Linked DNA regions of Homo sapiens: region 1 is linked to region 2. Evidence: promoter capture Hi-C in human tissues and cell types (Jung and others, 2019). All regions are on one chromosome and are shown on one strand. Each heading gives the region's core, a stretch centred on a gene start or on the middle of the fragment in contact. The rest is flanking DNA. Distances are from core to core; before and after follow the strand shown.

Evidence for each region. The method cuts DNA at HindIII sites, captures the fragments that hold promoters and counts their contacts. A contact is called where the count stands out against the background at its distance.
Region 1: a contact is called between a fragment that was not itself captured here and the fragment with the promoter of CD59 in region 2, in 1 of the 25 tissues and cell types used here (dorsolateral prefrontal cortex).

The regions. Positions count from the first base shown.
Region 1 is chr11:33,421,893-33,427,766 of GRCh38, forward strand. The region is part of intron 1 of KIAA1549L (KIAA1549 like); the gene reads left to right. Among named protein-coding and RNA genes, the nearest start is that of KIAA1549L, 49 kb to the left of the region's middle. The HindIII fragment of the contact is 4,649 bases long and covers 1,913-5,874 here.
Region 2 is chr11:33,733,420-33,738,958 of GRCh38, forward strand. It overlaps CD59 (CD59 molecule (CD59 blood group)), which reads right to left and starts at 3,004. Exons shown (of 4, transcript NM_000611.6): 1 at 2,963-3,004. RefSeq lists a silencer at 2,653-3,122. The HindIII fragment of the contact is 16,078 bases long and covers 1-4,714 here.

The DNA.
Region 1 (5,874 bases), core at 2,987-5,486, 310 kb before region 2:
ACCAAGAGTTGATTGAGTGGATTTGAGGTGGGGTTTGAGAATTTGCATTTCCTAACAAGTTTCCAGATGCTGCTGCTGCTATTGGTCTGGGGACCGTACTTTGAGAATCACCCTCCTCAAGTATAATTCTCATCATGGCAATTGCATGACACTTGTTTGTGCTATCCCTCCCCCATGAAGTCCATGTCCTATAGCCAAGCTTGGCCTCCTCTCCTGCCAGGCCTCTCTCCATGCCCCTTTACTACTGATTCTGCAAATGTCATCCAAGATCCGGGTATACCTGTGGATGCCCAGGATCCACACTTTCGATCTCTTGAATTGGAATCCCTGGGAGTGGGGCACAGGATAGTTCATAAGCATCCCAAGGTGACTCCAAGGCACACATGTGATAAAACAACCACTGCCCTGTGTATTCCTTCCCCAATACATTGTATTCTTAGTTTCTAGGGCATGTCTTGTACTTTCTTTCCCCTTTGTCACTTTTCTTGATCCACTGCTGCACCAGGAGTGCTCCCTCACACTTACTCCCCTGCTAGAAATCTTCTGTCCTTCTAGGTCTTCCTCAGAAGCTACTTCCTCCTTGAGACTCTCCTTAGCTGAATGGACTCCCTCCCTTCCCTCCCTCCCCTCCCTTCCCCCTTTCCCCCCTCCCCCCTTCCCCCCCTCCTCTCCCTCCCTCCCTCCTTCCTTCCTTCCCTCCTTTCTTTCCTTCTTCCTTTCTTCTTAGAGATTGTGTTTTTTCTTTTAAAAATGAGATGGCAGTCCTTATATTTTGATCAACTGTAAGATGCCTTTTTCACCCCTCCCTATGCTCACTCCTCTTTCTGAGTTGAATTTACAATATATGGCATGTATACAATAGATAATGAGGTATAGTCAGTGGATGTTGCCATGAAAAAGAAAAAAAAGGAAGGCTTATGACTTTTTAAAGTTTTTAAGTGTTAAAAACTCAATGGCGTATCACACAAAATGGCACTGCCCTTATGGCTGTTGTGTATGTGATCATAGCCCCTACCAATTGTATAGGTTTCTGGATGGCTGAGCCTGTCTTAAATCCATCAATTTGGTTCCCCCTGTACCTGGCCTATATTAAGTACACAAGAAGTGTTAGTTGAGTGATGTAAATGCGATTGATTTATCTGTGTGTGGTGCTGAAACAATTTCTTTGCTGGTTTGGCCTTTTATTACATGTGAAAATATGCGAGGACTTCAGAAATTTCATGGGAAATGTGTATATAAAAAACTATGCATACATTTCAACTTTTTTGCACAAAAATAAACTCATACTAACTTGTTGTAACATGTTTCAATAGGATCTAGTTTGAGACACTAAAAGGGTTAGGACATCAATTTGAAAAAAGCCCCTATCAGAGCCACATGAATTCTGCTAAAATTGAGGCAAGAACACACATCAGATTTATGGTAAAGCTTGGGTGGAGGGGTGGTGAAATCATTTATATTTTATGAAAAGTTGATGGGGACAATGCCTCATAGAAATCAGCAGTTTATAAATGGATAACTGGTTTTAAGAAGGAATGAGGTGATGGTAAAGATGCAACTTGCAGTGGCAGAGCATTCACATTAATCTGTGAGGAAAAATTAATCTTATTCATGCCCTCATTGAAGAGGACTGATGATTAACAGCAGAAACAGTAGCCAACACCATAGACTTCTCATTTTGCTCAGCTTACACAAATCTGACTGAAAAATTAAAGTTGAACAAACTTTCTACTCAATGGGTGCCAAATTTGTTGCACCCAGGTCAGCTGCAGATAAGAGCAGAGCTTTCAGTGGAAGTTTTATACAAGTGAGATCCAGATTCTAAAGTCATTCTTTGAAGAATTGTAACAGAAGGCTGAGTGCGGTGGCTCATGCCTGTAATTCGAGCACTTTGGGAGGCCAAGGCAGGAGAATTGCTTCAGCCTAGGAATTTGAGACCAGCCTGGGCAACATAGCGAGATGCTGTCTCTACAAATAATAATAAAAGCTAGCTGGGCATGGTGGCATGTGCCTGTGGTCTCAGCTAGTCTGCAGGCTGAGGCAGGAGGATTGCCTGAGCCCAGGAGGTTGAGGCTGCCTTGAGCTGTGATCATGCCAGTGCATTCCAGCCTTGGTGACAGAATGAGGCTCTGTCTTGGAAAAAAAAAAAAGAATTGGAAGAATTGTAACAGAGGATGAAACATGGCTTCACCAGTACAATCCTGAAGACAAAGCACAATCAAAGCAATGGCTAGCAAGAGGTGGAGGTGGTCCAGACAAAGCAAAAGCAGATTGATCAAGAGCAAAGGTCATGGCAACGTTTTTTTGTGATGCTCAAGGCAGTTTGCTTATTGACTTTCTGGGCCAGAGAATGATAACATCTGCTTGTTATGAGAGTTTTGAGAAAGTTGGCCAAAGCTTTAGCAGAAAAATACCTGTGAAAGCTTTATCTGAGAGTCCTTCTTCACCACAACAAGTTCATTCCTCTCATCAAGCAAAGGCAGCTTTGCAAGAGTTTCTATGGGAAACCATTATACATCCACCTTGCAGTCTTAATTTGGCTCCTTCTGCCTGTTTTTGTTTCCTAATCTTAAAAAAAATCTTTAGAGGGCACTCATTTTTCTTCATTTAATAATGTAAAAATACAGCATTGACATGGTTAAATTCCTAGGACCCTCAGTTCTTTAGAGATGCACTGAATGACTGATGTCACCACTTACAAAAGTGTCTTGACCTTGATAGAGCTTATGTTAAGAAATAAATTTTGTATTTTTATCTTTTAATTTCATTTTTACCATGAACTTTTTGAGTCCCCTCATACATGCTCTACTCTGGGTACTGATGAGAAGGGCAAACAGAAGAGAATAAACCAGGAGAATGATGATCTTTGTTCAAGTTTTAAATACAGAGTATTGAAATATACTCCTCTCCAAGTATCATCACAGATGCAGCCTGCTTCTGTAGAATCCTGATGGCTGTGGACTCTGTGTGGTGAGGAGGTGAAGAATGAGGTTGGGAGAGGTGCTGCCTTTCTGGCCTCTGTACAGAGGGCATGAGGAAAGCTAAACTCCTCCAGTCAAGAGACCATGGGTCTCCAGTATCTCCAAATGCCCAGCACTTAGAATAGAAAGTTGGCAGGGAGTCAGTGCTAGTTAAATGAATGAACAAATAAAACCTTGATTTTGATTCCCTTTCTAGATACCAAACTTTGATCTCTTTATGTCTTATTTTATTCATTTGTAGGGTGGAGATGTTAATATGTGCTCTAATTCCATCTCAAGGAGCTTTTCAGAGCCTAAGATGAGTTAATTGATTTGAAGATTTGTATATACGTTAGTATCTAGAGCAGAAGAGAACTTACCTTGTGTTTCTTACAGCTCTTCTTCTTGGTCCTCAAGTCCTATTTTAAAATTTTGTCAATTAGAGGACTCTTGGTTCTCTTGGTTGACTCATTCTCTGCTGATTTGTTCTCTGTACTTGCAGCAAATAAAGTGCAGTCATTGAGAATGTTCCTGTGTCACTGTGATGTATCAAGGGATCTTCATGTTAATATCTGTTTCTCTGACAACTGTGTTTTATACTTTGTACTGTAGCTTTCATTGGAGAAGCCCTGGGCTCATAAGAGTGATTTGTTGTGGCATTTCCTTATGGAACATAAGCTTTGAAATATACTTGAGATAAATATTCATGGGAGACATCCAAATGCAGTAATGAGAGTACAATGAAGACAGCATTTGGACTTGGAAAACCTGAGTTCAAGTCCTCTCACTTGCTGTACGTAGATGAAAACATCTGCTTATTTCCGCTATTATTAGGAAAGGCTGGAATTCTATTTCACTTTGCATCACACGTCATATGGATGGAGAAACCCAGCAAACACTACTTTAGCCAAATAAAGTAATCAAAGATAACATCACCAGTAATGAGATGTGTCAACATGTTCTCCTTATTTTGATGCACAGAGCAAAAGGCAAAACATCACTTCTTTGGGATTTTTACTGAAAATGCACAAGTTCAGTCTAAGCACGAGAAAACACCAGACAAACCCAAATTAAGGGCAGTTCTACAAAATACCTGACTAGTCAGTCCTCTTCACAGATGGCAAGGTCATGAAAGACAAAGAAAGACTGAGGAACTGTCACAGATTGGTGGAGGCTAAGGAGACTTGAGAACTAAATGCAATGTGGGACCCTGGATTGGATTCTGCATCAGAAAAAGGACATTAGAGACAAAGTTAGCAACATTCAAATAAGGTCTAGAGTAGTTAATATAAATTTATCAGTGTTATATTCTTGGTTTTGGTAATTGTATTATGGTTATGTAGGATATTAACAGTAGAGGAAGCCAAGTGAAGCGTATTGAACTCTCTGCACTCTCTGCTTTGGTAATTTTCTATGAGTCTGAAGTTTTTTCAGAAGTTAAAAACATGATACTGGGACACATGAAAGCTTTGTGAAATATCCTGTTTTATGGGAAGTAGAGGGGGTTTCATTTCTTGCATATGAATTTAGGAGCTAGAAAGACCAATTTTCTGAAGCTAAAGGAGTCAAACTGTATCTTGACTGATGGAGTTCCTGACCATAAATTGAGAGCAAGGAGGGTTAACTCTTTGAGATCCCCAGAGGCCCTCCTGGTGCACAGGTGGTTGAGTACCTGGAGGTGATAGTATTTTGGCTGTATCATCTTTCACCTGGTCACCTGGGCAGAGCTGTGGGGCTATAATGATGATTACCCTTAGATTGAAAGTTTGTTATGTGCTAGAATCTGGGTACCAACTGCTTGTCACCATTAATCTTAATAATATTTTTGAAAAGCAGGTAGGTGATAGTTCCCTTATTTTAGGATACATCTCAGAGAGATTCATTTGCCCAAGAGCACTTGGATGGAGTGGAAATCTGACTGCAAGCTCAGGTTCTGACAGCTGTGCTGATCTTTTCTCCTTTGCCCTTGGTGGGTGCTCCCCTGAGGGCCTCCAGATCTGGCCCCTCCATTATCATTTATATCTGTGCTTGATAGAAAATTAGGAATCAGTGTTTTCCTACCCCCTATTATCTGTTTAAGCATAGACTAGCATTTTATGTAGGCTCTTTGGGGCTATTAATTGGTTTCTGTGGTCAAATGTGTTTTGGGGAAACTTAGGGATAAATATTAAATTCAGTAGCTCTCCACCTTTACCCAGGCAACTAAATGGGCGGTAGAAAACCACACGACCAGGCTCATTAGTCTCATCAGTTTATACCATGAACCTCAAGTGGGCCTTTGGTGCTGCCCAGCAATGCCACTCTATTTCCCTAGCACAGTCATCTGCCCATTCTCTAGGGTGACTGCTTCATACCTTCTCTTCCTCACAAAATCTCCCCATCTCCCAAGAAAAAACAGGTAGAAGAGGATTTCCACAAGCCCTTACCACTGCCTTAACCTGGCTGCCTGAATCCTGCCTTCTCTCCCTTTGAGGATGAACCATCTCTGATCCCTTTGTGGGAGACAATATCCCCTCTCAGGCTGTCGGGGTCCTCCTGCCAGCAGTTCCCCCTGCTCAGTATGCTCCTCTCCCATCATAGATATGCATGCTGATTTGTCTTCCATTTCTCCATGTTAGGAAAGCCCTCCCTTGGCCATGCATCCCCCTTCGCTGCTATACTCCCTCCGTCCCTATTTCTCCTTCCTCTTTTTCAGCAAACCCCCTTGAAATAATTTCCTTACAGGCTGTCTCCGGTTCCTCACTTCCCAATTCTTTCTCTTTTTTTCTTAATTGAGGTGAAATCCACTTACCATAGAAGTCATCATTTTGGTGTTTTAAAGTGTACAACTCAGTAGCATTTATAATGTTATGCAGCCACTACATCTATCCACTTCTGAAACCTTTTCATTATTCTGAAAGCAACCCCCTTACTA
Region 2 (5,539 bases), core at 1,754-4,253:
CAGCCTGGCCAACATGGTGAAACCCTGTCTCTACTAAAAAAAATACAAAAATTAGCCAGATGTGGTGGCACTCACCTGTAATCCCAGCTACTTGAGAGGCTGAGACACGAGAATCGCTTGCACCCAGGAGGTGGAGGTTGCAGTGAGCCAAGACTGTGCCACTGCACTCCAGCTTGGGCAACAGAGAGAGACTGTCTCAAAATTAAAAAAAAAAATTATTAAAATTATTATAGCAACCTCTGAACTGGAAACTGGTAGAACAGCATTTAAACCCAGGTCTAAGCTCTGAGTGAACGAACCATAGTTAAACTCTAGTGGGGAGACGGGAGACTTCTTATAAATTCAGCTTCTGAAATACATTAGTTAAGCTGAGGTCATTAGAGAAGAGAGTTGACATCAGTGGTGTTTCCACAAGATTCACAGTTGCCCATGAGTATGGTTACTCCTCCTAGGAGCCTGAGGCCTTACAGACTGAAGAATTTTAAGGCTAGAAGTGTCCTCAAAATAAAACCCAATGTTTTTATTTTATAGGAAATTAGTGGAGGCCCAGTGGGATGAAATTACCTGTCCCAAGGCAACATGTTAGTCGCAAAACCACCCTGGATGGATCTTGTTTCTATTCGCCAGGGGCTGGCAACTCACAAGATACCTAGTGTCAGCAATGTCAGAGAACTAGAGCTTTTGAACCCCAGGTCTGCGTGTCACCTTGGAGACATACACAATACCTGCTCTAGCCATGCCTGTTGAAGCGCCCAGACAAACATCCATCACTCAGTTCACGGAACAAATTACATCAGCAGGAAGAGACAAAGAGAAAACAACCATCATAACGGAAAAGGCTTTCCAATCCAGCCAAGGTTCTCATGCCAGGAATAACCACTCCAAAACTCTTTGTGTGATATACATATAAATTCTAGGGTACATGTGCAGGATGTGCAGATTTGTTTCATAGGTAAACGTGTACCATGGTGGTTTGCTGCACCTATCAACCCATCACCTAGGTATTAAGCCCAGCATGCATTAGCTGTTTTTCCTAATGCTCTATCCCCACCCACCCCACCTGCCGACAGGCGCCAGTGTGTGTTGTTCCCCTCCCTGTGTCCAAGTGTTCTCATTGGTCAGCTCCCACTTATTAGGCCAGAACTCTTTGGACCAAACAAATCTGCAGCTTCCCCTACAAGGGCCTTTCCTGCAGTTTGTTCCGGAATGCCAATCCCTAACTCTCCAAAGAGTCCTATCTCCGCACTCACGGCCCCTCCCGTGTTAAGTACACATGCAAAACCAAGGTTTAGTGAATATGTTTCCTAAGATATAGGACATAAGTAAAAAGAAGTCTTTGCCTTTAGAAAGCCTCAAGCACTTCTGGGCTTGGCAATGTCTGTGGCGGTTTGGCTGAGGTTCTTAAAGAGGTGGCCCAGAATTTTCCATGCTCTACTTTTCAAGAGCTTCTACCAGCAGCTGTCAAAGATGAATGCCATTAGGCACCCCACTCTCTCACCCTAAGATCCATTTTATTTAGGCTTTTATCTCCTAAGCCACTCAGCTAATGGGATGTTTTTCTTACAGCTAAGTTCAGCAAACAGTTTCTAGTTTCCACTGTGAAAATACAGAGGCCACAAGTTTTAGGACTGTTTGGCTTGTAGGGGAGGCAGCCTCCCTTTCTGCCTCTCCTTCATAAACTGCCACGTAAATAGCCACATTTTGGCAAACGTTGCCATCTCCCTCAACATTCGGGGCTCTGTGCCTTCTTCAGGGAACTGGGAGTAAACCGCCAGGAGTGGAGAACTTGAACAACTGCTCAGGGATCGCAGGGTACCTGAAATAATTAGCAGCCGCCGCGTTTGTGCTGAGCGCTTTCCGTCAATCATCTCAACCACCCTGTGAAGTGAAGCCTATTGTTTTACCCATCAAGTGCTGTTAAATACTTCCAGAAATGACCAGTGAAGAGCCTGGGTATCACTAAACGGCCATAAAAGGCACACTGCTTAATGTTGGTTTTTTTTGTTTGTTCTTTGTGGGTTTTGTTCGTTTTTGAGGCGGAGTCTCGCTCTTATTGCCCAGGCAGTAGGGCAATGGCGCGATCTCGGCTCACCGCTACCTCAGCCTCCCGGGTTAATGTTGTTTTTTGAAAAGTCAGCAGTCAGACTCTAAGAAGGGTGCGGCCCGAGCCGACCCAAGAAAACAAAACATCACGTTGTACTTAAAACGTCCGTTTCGGCCGGGCGCGGTGGCTCACACCTGTAATCCCAACACTTTGGGAGGCGGAGGCGGGCGGATCACGAGGTCAGGAATTCAAGATCAGCCTGACCAACATGGGAAAACCCCGTTTCTACTAAAAATACAAAATTTAGCCAGGCATGGTGGCGCATGCCTGTAATCCCAGCTACTCAGGAGGCTGTGGCAGGAGAATCGCTTGAACCCGGTACACGGAGGTTGCGGTGAACCCAGATCGCGCCACTGCACTCCAGCCTGGGCAACAGCGAAACTCCATCTCAAAAAAAAAAAAAAGTCCGTTTCGCCCGACACCTGCTTTTCAAAATTACACATTTAGACCGCGAGGGGAGAGAGGAACTGCCGTGACCACGGAGGGCTGGCCTTTCCCCCGGCGCAGTTTCTCTGGACCGCTAGAGCTTCCCTTGAGACGAAAGCGATGGCAGGGGCCCGGGTGCGAGGCTGCCCCCGAGGGAATGGGGGGCGCGACGGGGGTAACGGGGCTGCTTCTGGGAGAGGGCGCGCTCCCCGTTTCTCCTTCCTCGTAGATAAAATGAAGCCAGCGTTCGGCTAGGACACCGGGCCGCGGTGACGGGTTGGAAGGGCCAGGCCTCGGGAGGCTCGCCCGGCAGGGGTCGAGTGGAAAGCGAGGACGGGGGTAGCCCCCACAGACCCTCCGCCCGGGCCCAGACTGCCGCCGCCACCTCGGCTCGGCTCACCCAAACCCCAGCAGGCCTTCGGGCCTTCTTACCTGGCGGCGCCCAAGATCCTCTTCCAGCCTCGAGCCGCTTCTGCGCTCAGCCCCCGCATTCTTTCGCTCCAGCCCGCAAGGCTCCGCCCCCCGGCCCCGCCCCTCAGGATGCCCTTGCCCTCCCAGGCTCCCGGCTCCCGCACCGCGCAGCCGCACCTCGGCAGGAACCTCCTCCTCTCCCTCCACCCCCGCGCGGAGCTCAGCCTCCTGGCCCAGGTTCTGAGAAGGCCGGGTGGCCAGGACCCAATGAGCACCTTCAAAACCCCAGGGAACTGAAAGTTTGGGGCGTCCTCCTCGGATTTGCTATGGGACATAAAAACAGTAGGAAACTTCCAAAGACTTCTGATTTTCCCTTTTACTTTTTTTTTAAGTATATTAAAATGTTTTTCAAAACGTTTCTGTGCGTCTTGCTGGTGCCCTGGGTGCCCCAGGGCCTGGCTATCGGGCTATGCGGCCCTGCTGCAGTCTGAAGCTGCTTCCTACTGCGAGGCTTGGGCAGCATCCAAATAGCCATCAGCCACAGCCGCATCCGTATCCGTGCCTTGTGACTTGTTTGAGACCCAAACAAAATGTTATGCGTTTAAAAGCTTACTGGGCTGCTCGGGGACCAGTGTTTTGAATGAACCTCTTCGAGTGTCTCTATCAACTTAGCTGGTAGCTACTGTTCCCCAGCAGCCACCAGAGGCAGGGACAGAAGAGCAAGACCAGGGGATCCGCCTGCATGAGTCTGTCCCTTCAGGGTGGCCTCGCCTCAGGGACTGGATTGTAGGCATGGTTTCAATAACACAGCGGTGTGAAAGTTTAAGAGTTTTTAGTACTTACGGACCCTGGGTGGTACACAGCTTGCCTAGAGGACACACACACACACACACACACACACACACACACACACACGGAGATCAGGGAGAACAGGGAGAGGGAAGGGAGGAACGGACCTTTGGGCCAGCAACTTTATCCAGTTAGGTTTCCTCTGGAGAGCTCTAACTGGTGGATTTAAAAGCAAGCAGGTGAAAAGGCAGAGGTGGGAGGAACTTGAACCAGAGTTTGAAGCTGCAGTAGTGCCCTGTTATCACATCACTGCATGTTTATCTCTGGCCACCAGCTAGAGCCATTTGCGTGGGGTATAGTACTGGAAACTGTCAATGGTGACTGAGACTTGCTTCTGTTATTAAAAGTTAAACATATTCAAAAATGGATGCTGAGGTAACAAAAAATTATAAGCACTCACCAGAACCGCAACCACCATTTGGAACATTAGTTTTATGTGCAGATGTAATTAGAAGTTTCCATTTGCTATTATATTTGGAAAGTGTCCCACTCACTGCAGAACTGACTGTAAGAACGCCATAGGAGGGAGGGTGGGGCTACAGGCCAAAAGTACAAGTCTTCCTCCAAGAGGATGGCCTCTGTTAGAAAGCATGAGACACACTTTGAGGGTCAGGGTGAGAAGATATTACATCTCAGGGCTGCTTGTGTTGAACTGGTCAGGGAAGAAGGCATGAGATAAAATTTAAGCAGGGGGAATCATAGATTACTGAATGTCTTGCAGGGAAAATCATATAGTAACTGTCTTGACGCTTCTACTGTTATTCTGATGGCTTTGGGATGTCAGGGAATGAGTTCCATTTGGTGGTGCTCAAATCCTGGTATTCCTCTATACAAGTGGGAGTTTTTTAAATCAGGATGACTTGCTTTGATATTTAAAGCATGTCTCCTTAAAACAGCTAATACTGTATATTTCCCAAGATGGATTCCAAAGCTCTTTTGTGTACATACCTTACACACATCCTGTTAGCTATTCCTTCCTTGACACGCTTGGCTTCTGAGATGCCACTCTCTCCTAGTTTGGTTCCCTAGAATGGTTTCTTGACCATTCGGTCTTGAGATTCTTTTCCTTTACCCACTAATAATTTGGTGTCCCAGGATTAGACTGAGAACCATGGCTGTGTGTGCTCCCTGGGAGACTATAGTGTATCTACTCTTTTACCTTGGGATGTATGTTTGCAGATGATTCAAAAGTCTGTCTCCATCCCTGACCACTCCCCCTATCTTCATATTCATATCCAGCTGACTGCTGGACATCTCCACTTATATGTTCCACAGACATCTTGAACTTAATGTGCACAAATCTGAATTCATCTTTAAAGAGTGACTGCTTTTCCTGAATTTTTTTCATAAATGAAGACAGAAACCTAGGAATCAACGTTGACCTCTTCCACTCCCTCACATCTACTCAGCCATTCCTGCCTATTTTACCATTTCAATATCTCAATTTCATTCCTTTTTCACATTGCTACTGTGCTAATTCAGATCTGTAGTTTGCGTTGCTTGAGCCATTACAATTCCTTAATACCAGGTCCCCATGTTGCCCATGTCAATTCCTGCATCCCCTGCCCCTTCTCTGCTTGCCCTCCACACGGCTGCTAGAGACCTGGCTAGTTTACCTCTCCAGCCTCATGCCTCACTTTTCATTTTCCACTTCATTTTACCTTGTTATCATCATCCTTTTGTGAATACAATATGCCTGCAGCAGCCAGTATGCAACCATGATCGTCTTTGAGAGGAAAAGTCTTGTGC